4 separate regions of the Homo sapiens genome follow, and all the other regions are linked to region 1. The links are contacts of gene promoters, found by promoter capture Hi-C in human tissues and cell types (Jung and others, 2019). All regions are on one chromosome and are shown on one strand. The core of a region is centred on a gene start or on the middle of the fragment in contact, and the rest is flanking DNA. Distances in the headings are between cores, read along the strand shown. Region 1 holds the start of LYZL2 (lysozyme like 2). Region 2 has its middle 37 kb from the start of LINC02644. Region 3 has its middle 36 kb from the start of LYZL2. Region 4 has its middle 36 kb from the start of LYZL2.

Region 1 (2,842 bases), core at 151-2,650:
TCTGGCAGACATGGTGAAACACCATCTCTACTAAAAATACAAAAATTATCTGGGCGTGGGGGCACATGCCTGTAATACCAGCTACTCGGGAGGCTGAGGCACGAGAATCGCTTCAACCTGCGAGGTGGAGGTTGCAATGAGCCGAGATCACACTACTGAGCTCCAGCCTGGACAACAGAGGGAGACTCTGTCTCAATTAAAAAAAAAAAAAAAGAGAGAGAGAGAGAGAAAAAAGTCCACAAATGGCTTCTGAAGATAAGAAAAGATGCTCAGACAGCTTGAAATAAGGGAAGCTGAAATTGAAACTTTGCTGACAAATTATGTTTCATCTCTAATATTAGCAAATATCTTAACCTTTGGTAATAGGGTATGCTAGCCATCTTCGTCATACAAGCCCACGTGGAAGGCAATTTGGCAATATCTAGCAAAATTACAAAATTACAGTCCTTAACCCAGCAATTCAATTTCCAGGAATGTATCCTACAGATATTCTTGCAAATGTACAAATGACAAATGTACAAGATTACTAATTGTAATATGTTTATCATAGAAGAAAAAAATACCTTAAGTGTGAGTCAATATGGAATTGGCTAAATATGTTATATCTACACAATGTAATACTATATAAACTTAAAACTAGATTTCAACAAGATCTTTGCATTATTTGCAGATGGAATTTAATAAAATACAATAATTAGTTAGGTACAACTAACAACAAACTTATACTGAGATCTACATATTCCAATGAGAATTCATTTCAAATGTGTCATTAAATCTGAACACAGAAATAAATGGACCTTCAAACTAGCTCTTTATTGAGTCACAAAGTGTTAAGCCAAATTTTTAAAAAACAATGAAATCATGTTAATTATACATAAAAATTTTTTATTTCTTTTGTGGCCCTCCTTTGACAATATTTTATTAATTAACAATATAACTATAGCAAAGAAATGTGCTGTTAATTAATTTTTAATGTTAATTTCACCTCTCATTCATTTTCAGATTTTAGTTTTGTGTATGTTGATAATTTATGTAGCATATTAGTACAGAGGTACAGAAGTGTGATTTATAATTTAATATACATCTAAAGAGGATACATGCTTAACTTTATTAATGGAATTTGTGATAAAGTTTGCAGACTGTTGCCTTAGAGAAGAGCTCTCACTTGGACGGGAGGCCCTGGCCAAGTTGTGTAGTGAGGACAGTTGTTGAGAGGAAAAGAGAAAAAACGAGAGGTATTAAGGCCCAGAAGAGAGTTAGCACCTGCTTCAGAACACAAGCGTGCAGGATGATATAGCTTTTAGTGCCAAGAAGTAGAATTCTAGCATCTCTAGGTGGTGAGAAACAAAGGACTAAGAATTTTTCTTTCTCTAACACTCTAAAGAAAGGTTCTTGAGCTAGGAAAGGATTACTCGAGCCTTGTTAGAATCAGACATGGCTTCAGGGGATGCAGGACGCTCCCCTGAGCTGCCTGTCACCGACTAAGTGGAGCAGTGTTTCTTCCGCAGACTCAACTGAGAAGTCAGCCTCTGCGGCAGGCACCAGGAATCTGCCTTTTCAGTAAGACCTAAATTACTCTTATGAAGCCACCTGTCCCTGAGAACCAGCAATGGCAGGTTCTTGAAGGATGTAGAACATGATGCTTGGGGTTATCATTGCTACGGGTTTTGTTTTGACTTGTTTGAGATCAGTTAACATTCTAAGGCAGAGGATGGAAACCAACCTTATTTGTAAGCTCTGCATCTTTTTTTTTTTTTTTGAAACAGGATGTCACTCTGTTGCCCAGGCTGGAGTGCAGTGGCACAATCACAACTCACAACAGCCTCAACCTCCCAGCCTTAAAAGATCCTCCCACCTCAGCCTCCCAAACAGGTGGGACCACAGTCACACACCACTATGCCTGGCTAATTTTTGTGTATTTTGTAGTGACAGAGGTCTACCTTTGTTGCCCAGGCTGGTCTCAAACTCCTGGCTTCAAGCAATTTGCCCTTTTCACCCTCACAAAGTGCTGAGATTACAGGTGTGGGCCACCATGCCCAGCCTAAGCTCTGCATCTTAAACCTCGTTTGTCTGTCCCTCACAGCTTAGCACAATGCTGTACACCACGGACTGGCATGATCTCTCTGAAAAGGGCCAGATAATAATATGTTAGGCTTTGTGGTCTATACAGCCTCTAACACAGCTACTCAACTCTGCCACTGCAGCAGGAAATCAGCCACCAACAATATATTACCAAATGATGAGAGTAGCTATGTTTCAATAAAACTTTACATACAAAAGCGGGCCTGGTTTGCCCACGCTTGCTATTCACGTTTGTAATGTACATGCCCCTCATGCAATGCAGTTCCTTATCTTATTGCTTAGTCACCTTAAAGCCCTGCTTGTTACTCGGTGCGGTGGCCTTGCTGATGACTACTTATCCCTGTTTTGGGCCTAGCCTTTCAATGCAGGAATCCAGCCCCAGGGAGAGAAACTAATGACTAGAGAAGTTTCCAGGCAAGTGCAGAAAATGACACGGGATGAACATATGTAAGAACATCAAGTTCAGGATCCCGAGTAGTTGTCAGAAATTTCACTTCACCCCATCCCAGCAAGGCTGTTGTGTTTGGGGAAGACATTATTTTAAGAGGGGAGGAGATTGTGGAAAATCAGTAGGCAGCAGGAGACAGCGCTCTTGATCCTACTCCCATTTCAGACGATTCTATGGGGGCCTCTTTATTGTCCCTCTGCTCCCCCAGGTGCTTTCCTCCTTTCATGAGGCTTTGTCCTCCATCCCTCTTGCTCCCCAGTCAGGTGCCAGACTTTTAGGAGGCCGCCCGGAGCACTGGTTGTGAAGCTTAGC
Region 2 (2,842 bases), core at 248-2,747, 56 kb before region 1:
AAGCGAACTCATCCACCGAGAAATGGGAACTGTTGCTTCCACAAACCTGAATAAGAGCAAATCTATATCCTCTGATGTCAATGTGGACAAGGGCAGTGGCATTTGGTAGTAAGAACCCACTTACAAATAAATTCAGATTTTTAAGATGGAAGAGGAAAAAAGAAACCAAAGCAGAAAGTCATCAAGATGAAAGTCTGGGCTAGAAGTTGGAAAACCTGAGGTCTGGTTCAGGTTCTCAGTTCCAGTTCTACTTAGTCACCCTGCACCTAACGACGTGCTTCTGTTAAAGAAGGGTTGGGGCTCACGTTAAAGGAGTTTAAACATGAGTGTCCAGTTCTGTGATCTGATGCAGAAAATTGGCAAATAATTTACTGTAAGAGTAAATTATCTTCTCTCATCTTTTCACAATTCCAAGATGAGGCTGAAGAGATGTATTGGAAGGGATTCCCCACTAAGATTTGAGTTATTTACAATTCAGGGATTTCCCCTCCTTTCCTTCTGCAAACATTTATTATGTACCTATAATGAATTAGGTACTATTCATGAAAGCATGGACCCCTAAAGGTTCTGAGAAAAAGGAAAGCTAAGCCTATAAAGTTGATGACAAGATGTTAAGACAAAGTGAATGTGAAAATGTTTACCACTAAGTTGGGAAATCTGCTTTTAAATAATAGCTTAGAAAATGATGGTATGTGCATATAGGTGACAAAGGGACCCCAAATTTTAACGATTTCCTGCAGGACATGAAACAAAGCCCCAAACACTCCTATGAAGACTTAAAGCTCTCAGATGACTTTACTAAGTATTTCATATGTAAGTCAATTTCATAAATGTTTGAATACAGACAACAAATCAGTTCCAAGAGCTCAGCAGCAAAGAATGGACTGCCCCAGAGACATCCCACTGCCTTGGAACTGAGGACATATTTTAGACATCTATTAAAGCATATCCAGGATTGACTTTGGTCAGTCAGAGAAATCAGGTTTGATGGAGAAGGACCCAGGAATTAATATAAAAGGAAGAGGAGACAAACTTCTCTATTGTGAAAGGCTGACTTGGGGTAAGTGGTTGCCAGGTCACAAGAAAATGGAAACGATTTAAAAGTAATTATGGGAAAGGACCAAGATTTGCTAGCAGACCTGAATTGCTTTTGAAACCTACAATTGCATTCAATTCTAAAGGGGTAAGTTTTGAAATAGTGACAAATTAAATTATGCATTTGAAGATGACACTATTTATGACAAAAAGATATTCAGTAGGACTATCTCACAGAACCTACCCAAAAAACATGTACAGAATGTCAGTAAGTTTAAAACTTTTTAAAGAAAGCTGGACAGGGTGTCTCACGCCTGTAGTCCTAGCTACTTGGGAGACTGAGGCGGAAGGATCACTTAAGCCCAGGAGTTTGAGACCAGCCTGGGAAACACAGTGACACCCCATTTCTACATAAAAGTTTTAAAAAGCCAGGCATGGTGTTGCACACCTGTAGTCCCAGCAACTAGAGAAGCTGAGGTGGGAAGATTGCTTCAGCCCATGAGTTTGGGGCTGCAGTGAGCCATGACTGAGCCACTGCACTCCAGCCTAGGCAACAGGGCAAGACCTTGTATCTTAAAAAAAAAAAAAAAATTAAAGAGACCATGGTTTCTTCTTTTAAATTGAGCTATCGTGTACCACCATGCCCTCCATGGGTGAGTGTGCTCACATGTGTGCATTGTGCACACACCACACACATACACAGGCACACACACACAACTGACCTTTCTTCACCATCCTGCCAGCCACAGTGAACTGGGTCGAGTCGTTGGCCGCTCCTCTGCCTCTCGTCTTCCAGGCCTCCTCTCTCACAGTGATGAGCTGCTTCCTCTCCTCAATCATCATTTGGCTCTCTCGACTTTCTGTGACCCGCTGTTCATAAATGTACAGAAGAGAAAACAGGAGAGAGAAATGACAGCGGTGTGGATCTCAGCCTGCAGCATTTCATGCGTGAAAAAAGCAGGTAGACAAAGAGGAGTAAGTATATTGTCCAAAGATGTTCAAAAATGTTCTATCTGAAATGGGCTCAGCTTCCTTACGTGCAGGTTGGGTGGGAGATCACCATTGGCGATGCTGTAACTTTAGATGAACGCCTCTGTCCTGTGACTTACCGGTTTGGGGCACTGGAGCACCAGAACAATTCTTTGTAAACACAAACAATTAAAAATAGATTGTTTTCATGCCCTGGACTCTACAGGGTTTTAAAGTTTCTCTGTCTTAACCCATCTAGTTAAACTCAGTTAACTGGGAGATTTTTATCCCTATATACTCACAAAGAACATGATTGATCTAGAAAACTTTATCCATGTGAGCACACGAGGAACTTGCCCAGTTAGAGACAGGGAAGGCTGGTTAGGAATAAGGGGCAGGAGGTTTTCTGGCACTCTGCTTGGTTTTTCCTGCAGCCACTGATGTTCTGCGGGCAGGTAGACAACCAGGAGAGCCCACAGAAGTGGCTTTAAACTGTGAGACATCTGATGTTGAGGGTGAACTATGCTGTAGAAAAAACCTACATGCACGGTAACATTTCTACGTAAAATGCTCTCAGCAGTTTCTAATTGGAAAATTTCTGGAGAGATCTGCTTCTTCCATTTCCAAGCCATTGGTGATGCTCATTAAGCTTGTGGTTGGGGATGTGGCAGGAGGGGAAGGGGAAGAAGCTACAGGGGACTCAAAGGGTATCAGGAAAGGAGGAGGGGCTCAGGACAGGCCTAGGATGAGGAGATGGGACTGAGGAGGGAGGGAGAGGAGCAGCGATGGAGGCAGAGGACAGGACTCACGCCACTGAGTGATGTGTATTGGGGAGAAG
Region 3 (2,842 bases), core at 104-2,603, 36 kb before region 1:
AAAGGGGAATTGCAACTCTATTCTTATTCCCACATAAATCTGGGGCCCTCTAGGTGGCTGAAATATCCCAGCTACAAGGTAAGAACCTGGCGTTTGTGGAGACATGGAGATAGCCTCTGGCTGGGTGGGATATGGAAGGGTGGATGGTTGGGGTGGGGGCCGGCAGGCAGGAAACACAGGAGCCTCCAGCCGGTCCCTCTAGGGCAGAACGCCACAGAGGTGTGAGGTGGATTCTTCAACAGTTCAGGGAGTTCCACGAAGTCCTAACACGCCACCAACTTCCCAAAGTGAAACAATGGCTCTTGTATTCTTTTCCAATGTTCTTCTTCGCCAAATAAGAAAGCTCAGATGCCACTGTTTCTGACATTGTGGAAATAAGATTTCTAAAGGCCTAATGTACTCTTTAAGCAATAGTAAAGGTTTTATCCCTAAATAACGTAAGAATTATTTAATTCACAATCTTTCTCAAAGAAGTTCCCAAACAGGGATAATTTAAACACAAATAATTTAGACAGTTATAAAACAACGATTTTACTAATCCAGTGGGAAAGTCGGTTGCATCCTATGTTTTATGCTGGTTATGGTTCAAATTTGACATTCACAATGTCAGAAAAGATGAAAACAGAAAAATAACTTTTTGGTATATTTTCTTGAGCAGCAAACATTTTCTAAAAAAGGAGGGTGTGGAGGGTTTCCTATAATTTCTTAATTTCTCCACTTTTTGTCTCCAAGTGGGGATAATATTGCTTTCTTCTGAAGGCTGTCTTCAACATCAAATGAGATATCGTGCAAAATGTGGAAGGCAGTCTGTGATGCTGGGTAGCACTGAGCATGGAGCATTCAATATAGTCAGGCCCCGGACAGGGGAGAGACTGACGCAACAAGGCTGAAGAAGACAGACCTGCCCTCCTTAGCGGGCGCAGCCATTTATAAAAAACGATAAAGGAAATCTGTAAATTCCAGGCTCTATTTCTTAGACTCTGAAATGTGAATGTGGATGTGTAATTTTAAATAAGCCCTGTTAAGAGCATGTGAACTGAGAAAATTCATGAAGAAAGAGGGTGTGTTTTTCTAACTTGCTGTCTAGCTGGAATTTCTGTCCTTTTACCATATTCTCCTGTTTAGAGCACACGGGGTTGGCTGCTGTAACACTAATCTGAGCACACCACGGTCTCGCCATGGACCAGGGGAGAGATGGAGACGTGGCACCTGGGTCAGTTCTATTCACTACGTGGCCCTGGAGGCTACTGGAGCCGAATCCCTCCTTTAGTAAAATGAGGCAGTCAGAGGTGTGTAGAATAAAGTTTGAAAGTCCTATGATTTTATATATTTCTTTCTCAAGAAAGAAAAGTAAAGCCCAAATGTAGGAATAACATTCTTATTTTAAATAGTTTAAGCTTCATTATTTCATTTTCACAAAAGGGAGAGATGAAAGTCTCATTTAGGAAAAAGCTATCACAGATAAATTGTAAAAATCTGTGGTTTAGGCTGGGTGTAGTGGCTCATGCCTGTAATTACAGCACTATGGGAGGCTGAGGCTGAGGATCACCTGAGGTCAGGAGTTCCAGACCAGCCTAGCCAACATGGTGAAACCCCGTCTCTACTAAAAATACAAAAATTAGCTGGATGTGGTGGTGCATGCCTGTAATCCCAGCTACTTGGGTGGTTGAGGCAGGAGAATCACTTGAACCCGGGAGGCGGAGGTTGCAGTGAGCCGAGATTACTCCACTGCACTCCGGCCTGGGTGACAGAGAGAGACTCTGTCTCAAAATAAATAAATTAAAATAAAAAGAAATAAGAAAATTGGGTTTTTTGTCTTTCACAGAGAGTCCTAAACATTGACAGAATCATTCCACTTCACAGCCGTTCCCCATCTGCACCCATCCTACCTGGACACAAGGCCATGCCCCATCTATACCTGTCCTACCTGGACACGAGGCCATGCCCCATCTATACCTGTCCTACCTGGACACGAGGCCACTGACTTGCCTTTGAAAACTCTGGGGGAGAGCCGATGCGAGCACAGCGTGGACCACCTCATTTCCAGGTACCGTGAACTATTAATTTTCTTTTCTTTTTTTTTTTTTGATATTGCCCTTTTTTTTTTTTTAAGATAGAATCTCACTCTGTCACCCAGGCTGGAGTGCAATGGCACAATCTTAGCTCACTGCAACCTCTGACTCCCAGGTTCACGCAATTCGCTGCCTCAGCCTCCCAAGTAGCTGGGATTACAGGTGCCTGCCACCATGCCCAGCTAATTTTTGTATTTTTAGTAGAGACCTGGTTTCACCGTCTTGGCCAGGCTGTTTTTGAACTCTGGACCTCGTGATCCACCCGCCTCGGCCTCCCAAAGTGCTGGGATTACAGGCGTAAGCCACCGCACCTGGCCTAATTTTCATTTTTTTTTTTTTTGAGACGGAGTCTCGCTCTGTCGCCCAGGCTGGAGTGCAGTGGCACGATCTCGGCTCACCGCAAGCTCCACCTACCAGGTTCATGCCATTCTCCTGTCTCAGCCTCCCGTAGCTGGGATTACAGGTGCCCGCCACCATGCCCGACTAATTTTTTGTATTTTTAGTAGAGATGGGATTTCACCGAGTTAGCCAGGATGGTCTCGATCTCCTAACCTCGTAATACACCCGCCTCGGCCTCCCAAAGTGCTGGGATTACAGGCGTGAGCCACCGCGCCCGGCCCAATTTTCTTTTTGATATGAAATCTCATCTGCCTCCTTGTAATTCTACACGTTATTCTTACTTTTGGCCTCTGGAGCAACATAGAATAAACCTGTATTCCGGCTGACAGTGTTGTCAGTTCTTGAAAATTGCCACATGTATCTGTCTGGGT
Region 4 (2,842 bases), core at 163-2,662, 36 kb after region 1:
ATAGTAAATGAGTAGATTGTATAGCACATTAGAAGGCAGGATGTGCTATAACAAGAAGAAGAAAGGAAGAGCCAGTCAAGGGGCATTAGGAATGCAGGGGCAGGAGGTGCAGATTGAAATATTCAGCATGGCGCTGGCACGGGTCTTATGGGAAAGGTTCAGCACAGCGCAGAGGGGCCATGAGGCAGGCCCTTTCCTGGGAGACACAGACTGCTCTGCAGAGATTACGTCCTGAGGCTTCACTGCAGCCTGGGACTGTCCCACCTGACTCTCCCTCTCTCTCCTGCATTGGAGATCTGACCTGCATCCCAACCTGATGCCTCCCTCAGCCTCCTCCCTCCTTCCTGATATCTTCTCTTGGGCAGATGCTCTCGGAAAAGCCTCGCTCACTGAATCCCCCCCCACCCCTCGGGCATCTGTATCTCAGGGGACCGGGTTGGCACACCAGGGAAGGATGCCAGCTTCTGCACTGAAGGAAAAGGGCAGCACTGCAGGGCTCAGAGAGAGAAGGAGTGCCATGAGAGCTGCTCTGAAAGGATTGTCCTGACGCAGTTTTGAAGAGAACCCTTAGGAGTAGCAGGAGTCACAGCAGGAGACCAGGTGGAATGTTCTAGGTTCTGCCACAGCCAGGAAATGATGACGCCACTGTGACCCGGGGCAGCAGACAGGTGGGAGAAGTGGTCTGACTCTGGGTGTATTTTAAAGATACAACCAACAGGATTTCCTGGTGGATTAAGTGTGCCGTGTGAGAGAAAGAGGAGTCAAGGATGTTCAGCCTAGGAAGCTAGACCAATGGAGCCACCAACACCTGGAATGGGGGAACCTGTGGGCGGAGCAGATCTGGGGGAAATTTGGACACATCGGTGTGACGTCTCCTAGACATCCAAGCCACCATCTCAAGGAGGGACTTGGACGAATGTGTGTGCACTTTGGGAGAAAGTTCAGGGCTGGCAATGGACATGCAGGGGTTGTTATGTGTAGATAAACAGATGTTTAAAGACAAGGGACAGGATAAGGCCTCAGTGGGGAGATGAGGAAGTGATGAGGCTGGAAACCAAGAAGGAACTGCAGCAAATCTCAACTGATTTAGAGGTTTATTTTGCCAAGGTTGAGGATGAGCTCAGGAAAAAATTACACACACACACGCAGGTTACAGGAACATATGTAGCCTGTGCTTTTGTCCAAAGAGGGTTTTGACAACTTCAGTGTTTAAAAGGGAAAGAATGGGCAGGAGAGGAAGGAGGAAAGGAAAAAAAGGGAGGGTTGGCAAAAAGAACACTGATTAGTACACACTGAATCCACATTTTACATGTGAAAAGGGGAGGTCAATTATGCATTTGTCTGTGCTCAGTAAATCTACATTCTACAGAAGATAAAGTAAGCATGTGAAATTACAGCTATCTAGGAAAAAAAGGAAGGCAGTTGTTGGTTTGTTGTTTGTTTGTTTCAGCATAACTCAGTTGCCAAGATTCACTTTTCCCTTTGGCATGGTGAGTTTGGGGTCCAGGGATTTTATTTTCCTTTTGCAAGTCCAAAGATATTGTGACATTACAAGATTAAGGTGCAGCGAATGACACAGCAGAGAAGGCAGAGTGACCAAGGAGCAGGAGGAAAACCAAGAGAAGGTGGCGTCCGGATGCCAAGGGGAAAAAGATCATGAAAGAGAAGGGACCATCAACACACCCCAGCTGCTGAAGCCCAGGACAATGAGGACAGAGGAATGGCCATTGGATCTAGCAGTGCAGAGGTCATTAGTGACCGTTAAGGAAAATGCTGGATCTGGCTTTTCCTTTCAGAGGCCACAACTTCCACATGTGGGTCCCCTACACTCATCACCAGGGACACAGGCTCCAGACCACCCTGATCCCTGATGACCGCAACTTCTGAAGCAGCTCTGCCCACTCTACATTCTCCTCTGAGCCTGGTCTCTGCTCCTTGAGGGAGGGGACAGCCTGCCCGAGTGCTGAGCCACACTCCCTGCTGACCTGAGCATGGGAGCAAAGTGCTGCACTTGCTCTTTTTACCAGGTGGTTTCCAGAGACAATGTTCCTCAACGAAAGGAAAGTGTCCTAGTGATTGGAACTGCACCTCGAAGAGCTTGAGTCTCAGAAGGAGAATCACTGGGCCAAGTGTGATGGGAGTAGGGCCCTGGTCCCAGCTCTTCTAGTGACCAGTGTTGTGGGTGAGCCACAATTATCTGGACCGGTGGCATGGGGGTAAAAGAATTTACCAAGACAGTTGTAGATAAAGAAAGGCAGATTTGTTTGTTTAAAAAAAGCATGAAAATATGTTGCAAGAAGGCAACGGGCAGCCAGCAGAAGAGCAGCTGACAGCCAGGAGGCAGAGGCTTGCTGGGGATTTTATAGGATGGTGCTTGTGCTGTGTGCTGGAGAGGGCTGTGTGTGGTACTGACAACGCCAAGGTTGCAGTGAGCCAACTTGCAGGTGTCTGGTGATACCTGGGCACAGGAAGATTGTGAGTTATTTGCACAGGAGGGCTGTGTGTCTGGACCATGAAGAAAGGCAGACTTACAGCTTACCTGTTTCCCCTTTTTGCTTTCCCCTCCTCCCACCAGCCTGACTCCTTTTTACTAATTAGGACTCCAGACCCAGCTCTGTCCCTGTACTCACCTCACCCTTCTCGGCCTTATCCGCTTCCTCTGTGGAATAAGGGGATCTGCCACCAGATTCTCACGCTATCTGGATGATAGAAGCCCCACATGCCACTCGGTGCATGTAGCAATATGACCTACTCAGCACATTGTGGATTTCTAAATAAATTTAGAATAATTTCTAAATAAATTAACTTTTAGGATAAGAAATAAAAAGAATTTTTTCCAGCA

What was found. Contacts are between HindIII fragments. The study calls those that stand out against the background at their distance.
Region 2: a contact is called between a fragment that was not itself captured here and the fragment with the promoter of LYZL2 in region 1, in 4 of the 25 tissues and cell types used here (aorta, lymphoblastoid cells, spleen and 1 more).
Region 3: a fragment that was not itself captured here is called in contact with the fragment with the promoter of LYZL2 in region 1 in 4 of the 25 tissues and cell types used here (adrenal gland, aorta, liver and 1 more).
Region 4: a fragment that was not itself captured here is called in contact with the fragment with the promoter of LYZL2 in region 1 in 1 of the 25 tissues and cell types used here (mesenchymal stem cells).

Annotation. Positions count from the first base shown.
Region 1 is chr10:30,628,311-30,631,152 of GRCh38, reverse strand. LYZL2 (lysozyme like 2) reads left to right here and starts at 1,400. Exons shown (of 5, transcript NM_183058.3): 1 at 1,400-1,560. The HindIII fragment of the contact is 10,435 bases long and covers 1-2,842 here.
Region 2 is chr10:30,684,325-30,687,166 of GRCh38, reverse strand. No RefSeq gene overlaps it. Among named protein-coding and RNA genes, the nearest start is that of LINC02644, 37 kb to the left of the region's middle. RefSeq lists an enhancer at 2,686-2,842. The HindIII fragment of the contact is 9,414 bases long and covers 1-2,842 here.
Region 3 is chr10:30,664,608-30,667,449 of GRCh38, reverse strand. No RefSeq gene overlaps it. Among named protein-coding and RNA genes, the nearest start is that of LYZL2, 36 kb to the right of the region's middle. The HindIII fragment of the contact is 3,953 bases long and covers 1-2,842 here.
Region 4 is chr10:30,592,468-30,595,309 of GRCh38, reverse strand. No RefSeq gene overlaps it. Among named protein-coding and RNA genes, the nearest start is that of LYZL2, 36 kb to the left of the region's middle. The HindIII fragment of the contact is 8,147 bases long and covers 1-2,842 here.